Regions from separate parts of the Homo sapiens genome. Here region 1 is linked to region 2. The links are contacts of gene promoters, found by promoter capture Hi-C in blood cells and fetal thymus (Javierre and others, 2016). All regions are on one chromosome and are shown on one strand. Each heading gives the region's core, a stretch centred on a gene start or on the middle of the fragment in contact. The rest is flanking DNA. Distances are from core to core; before and after follow the strand shown. Region 1 overlaps RFX3 (regulatory factor X3). Region 2 holds the start of CDC37L1 (cell division cycle 37 like 1, HSP90 cochaperone).

Evidence for each region. The method cuts DNA at HindIII sites, captures the fragments that hold promoters and counts their contacts. A CHiCAGO score of 5 or more calls a contact.
Region 1: a contact is called between a fragment that was not itself captured here and the fragment with the promoter of CDC37L1 in region 2, in 1 of 17 cell types (naive CD4 T cells). The highest score is 5.3, in naive CD4 T cells.

The regions. Positions count from the first base shown.
Region 1 is chr9:3,477,136-3,480,210 of GRCh38, reverse strand. The region is part of intron 1 of RFX3 (regulatory factor X3); the gene reads left to right. Among named protein-coding and RNA genes, the nearest start is that of RFX3, 47 kb to the left of the region's middle. RefSeq lists enhancers at 1,669-1,718, 741-1,940. The HindIII fragment of the contact is 301 bases long and covers 1,310-1,610 here.
Region 2 is chr9:4,677,934-4,680,885 of GRCh38, reverse strand. CDC37L1 (cell division cycle 37 like 1, HSP90 cochaperone) reads right to left here and starts at 1,317. Exons shown (of 7, transcript NM_017913.4): 1 at 987-1,317. The coding sequence starts at 1,118. It overlaps CDC37L1-DT (CDC37L1 divergent transcript), which reads left to right and starts at 1,406. Exons shown (of 2, transcript NR_121598.1): 1 at 1,406-1,499. RefSeq lists an enhancer at 1,094-1,183. The HindIII fragment of the contact is 3,086 bases long and covers 1-2,661 here.

The sequences.
Region 1 (3,075 bases), core at 211-2,710, 1.2 Mb after region 2:
GTATGAATGACCACCAGCAAGATGACTGTAAGAACTGCCTAGTTGAGCCCTGCTCAGATTGCAGAATTATGACCAAATAAAATGGTGGTTGTTGTGCCAGTAAGTTTTGGGGTGGTTTGTTACACAACAAAAGAAAAGCAAAAGAAACATGCGACAATATTCTTGAAAATAAAAGCCTTGCTAAAAGATGTTTACTTTTCTCGGCCTACCTTGACAGTTTTGGTCTTTCCTTGGCTTGCCAATACCAGCTAACAAAAGAGAAATAGTAATGAACAACTCTTTTCTCTTCCAGAAGCCCGCGATTTTGGCCTATACTTGGGTGAATCTGAGGTAAACTCAATCTCTGTTCTGAGTCTCTTCAGAGAAATCTCAAGAGATAGGGTTGCCTCCTAAGTCAAGTATCTGATTCTTCTTTTCTGTCGATTTCCCACTTCCAGTTTTCTGTGGTTTTAAAAAAATTTCTTACTATCAGAGTATAGTTGGTTTTGGCCTCAGTCAGCCAAGTAAGACAAGATGGACTAGGCTTTCCTCCTCACTTTTACTTGTTTCTGTTGTCCCCAAAAGATTTGAGAGGCCGTTTAGGACTGAGAGTGGCTCTGAGACCAGTAATCACCTTTGTTTTTGATGATTCACATATTAGTTAACAGGAAAGATGTGATAAATTGTTTATGCAGTTTATTTTTTCCTGTCTCACAGATCTGTTTCACTCTCATTTAAGTACTGAAATACAGATTTTTTTCATAAGTTTCTATTAGAGATAAGAATCAGTGATCTAAAAATTTTAAGTATATTTTTAAAAAATCAAACTAAGTGAGGGTTTGTTTTTTTTGGTTAAGATCTTTTTGTCCTGAAAATTATAAATTCAGAATATTACAGAACTTGATCAACTTCCAGAATGGTGGAGTGAGGGCCTCAGTGAATTTGTGCTGCCTATACAACAACAAAAATATGGGTAAAATAATGAAAATCAGCCATTTTAGAATTCTGGCAATTAAGCAGGAGTATGAATTGAAAATCATCTGTCCAAGAGAAAACTAGTGAATCTTGGGAAGACCAGTGGGGTCTGCGATATTTTAACTTGGGGTTATTCTCATCTCTCTCTCCAGCTTAGTGGTGTAGCTAAAAGCTGGCAGTATTGCAGACAATGGAGAGAGCTGACCACTTCTGGAGCCCCATTGAAGGCACTATCCCCAGAGCACAGTTAATATTTTGTCCCAACTTGCAGCTCCCTGGGAAAACTCTTTTCAGAGAGAGTGGCTGGATATTTGATTTGACTCTGAACTCAGCTCAGTTGGGGGAAGAAAAAGCTTACCCCCAGGGCATTACTGAAACAATAGCAAACTGTTGGCAAAATGTCAATTGCCTAAGGCTGTGATTTCAGTTGAGGCAAAGGAAGAATCTGGCCAGGAATTTAAAAGGAAAGTCTGGAGAACTAGCCAACTATAGGGAACTTTGGAAAGCTCTGGCATATTCCTGGGTATTTAAAAGGCTGTACAATGTGCAAGTCTGTACACATGCCCGGAAATGACCTGGGAAAGGAGAATGTCACCTCTGACTGATCTTGAGGCACTGTGTAAGCAGGAAGTGAAAATCAGTGCTATTTGTAAGCTTCCTGAAGTTTGAAGGTATGACTTCTCATGAAGATTTCTTTGGCAAAAGGTAGAAGACATATAGGCAAAGCATTTAAGGAAATCTTTTAAATGATCATTGGTTGACTACTACATTTTACTGGTCCAGGTATGACTTCTTGGAAGCCAGGCTTACAAATAAAAACAAGATCCTAAAAAAAAAAAAAAAAAAAGTTCTAGCAGAGAACTCGGTGGCCACACACTACGGGGAATACAGGATCTGTAAAATTCGTTCATGAAAGTACTAAAGAATCAGCATCAAGAAAAACAACACACTGATGATTAAAAAATTTAGGGGAATAATGTGGAGCAATCTGATATGAGATTTGTTAAAATATATTACCTAAAATGTTCAGTTTTAACAAAAATTGAGAAATGCAAAGAAACAGGAAATAAAACACACAGAGACAAATAATAAAAAACGAACAAAAAAAGTCCCTGTGGGAGCCTAGATTTTAGACTTTGTAGTCTTTAAGTTAGCTATTACAAATACATTCAAAGAACTAAATGAAACCATGTCTAAAGAATTAAAGGGAAGCATCAGAATGGTGTTTCACCAGAGAAAGAGTATCAATAAAGATAGAAATTATTAAAAAACAAGGAAGTTCTGGAGCTTAAAAGTATAATAACTGAAATGAAAAATTCACTAGAGGAGCTCAACAACAGATATAAATTGGCAAATGAAGGAATCTTTTAACTCGAAGTTAGGTCAATAGAGATTGTTCAATGTGAGGATCAGAAAGAAAAATGAACAGAGTCTCAAAAGACTTATGTGACTCCATTAAATGTTGTGCCAACATGGACATTATAGGATTCCCAGAAGATGAGAATGAGGCAGAAAGAATATTTAAAAAAAAATGGCAGAAAACTTTCCAAACTTGCTGAAAAATATTACTCTGTGCTACACATCCAAGAAGCTCACTGTAATCCAAGTTGAATAAGCCCAAAGTGATCCATACCTAGACCCATCATAGTTGAATTTAAAGAAAAATCTTGAAAGTAGCAGGAGAAAAATGACTTGTTACAAGGAATCCTCAATAGGCTTAATAGCTGACTTACGAGAAACCCTGGAGGCTAGAAGACATTTTCAACATTGAAAGTAAAAGACTGTCAACCAGTAATTCTCTATTTAGCTAAACTTTTCTTCAAAACTGAAAGTGAAATTAAGACGTTTCCAAATAGATAAAAACTGAAAGGATTCTCACGAACTCTAAGAAATGTTAAAGGGAGTCTTTCAGGTTGAAATGAAAGGACACTTAATGGTAAATTTTAATCCGTGTGAAGAAATAAAGAGGAATGGTTAAAGGTAACTACAGGCATTATGAAAGACATGTACAAATAGATTGAATAATAGATTGAAGTTTTTGTTAGGGATAGGCTCTAAATCCATGTCTTTTGTATAGTATAAATTGTGATTCTGTATTGGAATTATACTTTGCTGTCTGGA
Region 2 (2,952 bases), core at 68-2,567:
TTACTGGTAAGCAATTTAACTCATTCTCATTAACATCTAGCAAAATAAGTTGAGAGGAAAACTACTATTAAATCTGTTACACTCTTGGGAACCCCATTTTGCAAGAAGGCGGCAGACACTTATGATCCATTGAATATATTAGTGTTTAGTCTGTGATTCTGAAATATACTTCCAAAACACACACGGATTCGGAGAAAAAAACAGGACAAGGTGATGCGAGTATGTAAGTATCCCCTAAGATAGGTCCCTGAAAAATCCTTAATAGTATATCACATTTGGATACGTTTCAGTCGCAGGAAGGCAGGAATGCTGGATTGAAAACACAATACCAGGAACCTAAGAGAAGTCTGAAGGAAAACACAAGTATATGCGTATATATTTTCACTGGAGAATGACGTGAAGCAAAACTAAAAAACAAAACAGTAAGGCAAAGATGGTCACGCGAATGGGAGAGGTGTACGCCAGCGTCAAAAGCGAGATTTAAAGAATTTACTCAGTTGTCAACATCGGTGAAAATCGCATGTGAAATCTTTGTCAGGACTCAGTGTGATGCTGAACTACAATCATTCACTGTTCCTAGCAACTGTGCACAAGTATGCTAGAGCCTTTAACAGAATAAAGTGCTTGGGGAAAACCTCTCACAAGAGGACAAAGGGTCAATGTTACAGCATGAGCCGCCCCAAATCTGAGTGCTGTCAGGAAGGGGAGATGGAGGAAGGTATTCCAAGAGTGAACAGGAATCAGCCAAGGCGAAAGAAAACATGTGCGTGGAGGTGGAGGTTGGTAATATATGGCCACCCCGTCTGCCCTCCGAAGATGCCATAAAAGGGGTGGGATGGCATCAGGCGTCAGGTCCCAGGTCCCCGGCCCCTGGCAGTGAGGTGGGCGTAGAAAAAGGCGTAGAAGAGGGTCTGGGAGACGCGGCATTCCAGGGGTTTGGCGACAGCACCACTCCATCCCTCCGCAGAACGCAGGCCCCTTCTCACCTGGGCGCCGCCGCCTGGCAGCTGCGGGCAGCGGGGAGAACTGGGGAACACGTCGAAGTCACTCTCTTCCTCAGCCTCACCCTCGGCCCGAGGGAGGCTCCAGGGTCCCGGAGGCGGCCACGGTTGTTCCATGTCCGGCTGCTCCGGGTCCTACAACCGCCCTTGGCCCTACAACTGCCACTGCCAACAGACTTGGCGTGAATGGAACCTGCTGCGCCGAGCCAGAAGCCCAGCCGGGGGTCCGGGCCGTTACCCAGAATCCCTCTACTGGCCGCGACGCCGCTGCACACCCGGCGACAGCCTGGGCCTCGCCACCGGCGGACGGCGGAAGAAATAGTCGGCGCGGTGCGTCACTTCCGGTTGGGGCGGGGCTGTGGAGGCGCGTCCCGGGCCCTTTGCGTGTAGTGGGTGGATCTGCAATTGTATTCCTGTTTCAAGCCCCGTTTTCTTGCAGCTCTTCGGCACTGCAAACCTAACCGCTAATGGCGCTGTGGGTGGAGAAACGTTTGTTAGGTAGCGTTATATATTGTTATCTGGTGTTCCCTATACCGAAAACGGCGGGTCCTGGCCGCCGGGAGGTACTCAGACCAGGTGTGCACTTTACATGTTGCTTAAAAATTGCAACTCATTCCTTTACATTGACATTTAAACCAGTGATTCTAAGGCAGAGTTGGGGCGGAGGGAGGAGAATTTTGAACAAGCGGAGCCAATTTTCGTCTCATTTCTAATTACAGGCAACAACAGAATTCTGCGAAACTTGGTTGGTTGGAGGAGCACACCAAAAATAAAGTACCGGAGCCGGCACGGCTTCAAAAAAATTAGGATCAGTACCGCTAGTAGCGAACGCATAAGAAGGGCTTCCTGTATGCCTGCGTATCTTGTTTAAGCCTAAAGATATGTACTCTCTTTATCCTCTTTTTTTGAGACGAGGAAGTAGACCCAGCATGCCCGAGATCACACATTTTACAAGGAAGAAGTAGGATCCAGACCCAGGGAGTTTAACTTCAAAACTTGAACGTTTAACAATCAGGTCTTGCTGCCCTACTCATAAAGAGACCCAAATAAAAACAACATGACGCCATTTTTTTCCATGTGTTTAGACTGGCAAACTTGTGAAGTCGCTTAATACCAAATGTGTACCAAGATGTAAGGAAATGATGTGAGAATGTCATTAGTATAACCTTTTAGGAGGAGTAATTTGACAATATGAGAGGCTTGAGCGGATTGATTCAGCAATTTCACCACTAAGAAAGTATGCAACAATTATTTTTGCACCAATATCCAAAGATTTACTACAAAGATTTCTGGCAGCAATTTTTGTGTGTGTGTGGCAAGAAAAAAAAAAGCATTCTAATTGTCCATCGATAGAGGAACTTAAAGTATGGAATATTAATACAATGGCATATTACCCTTTTTAAAAAAAGTAAATTGTATCTGAATATGCTGATATATAAATACCTCCAAAAGGTATTGAGTTTTAAACAAAGCAACTTGCAGAATTAAACATATGCGTACGTATACAGAGAGAGAAGAGAGAGGGATGGTATTTGTTTGCGTCCGTGTGTGTGTGTGTGTGTGTGTGTGTGTGTGTGTGTGTTTGCGCAGAACATTCCTGGAGGATATGCAAGAAACTGTTAATGATTACCTCTGGTGGGTGAGCCTAGGAAGGAAAGCTTCTGAGGATCTTTACTTTCCACATTTAGCTTCCCTGTACTGTGCTGTTTGAATATTTTTCCAATGAATGTATACTATAATTATAGTATTATAACAGTACAAGATTATAACAGTACAAGATTACTATAAAATTAATTACAAATAAAAGCTGAGAATCACTTTTGCACCTAAACCTTTTGAATTTAGGGGTGAAAGTCACAGGAGAGACTGGAAAGGGAGGAAGAAAAGAAAAACATTTTTCTCTTTGCTTCCATGAAGCCACAAAGTGCTTTGAATAGTGCCTGGCATAAAG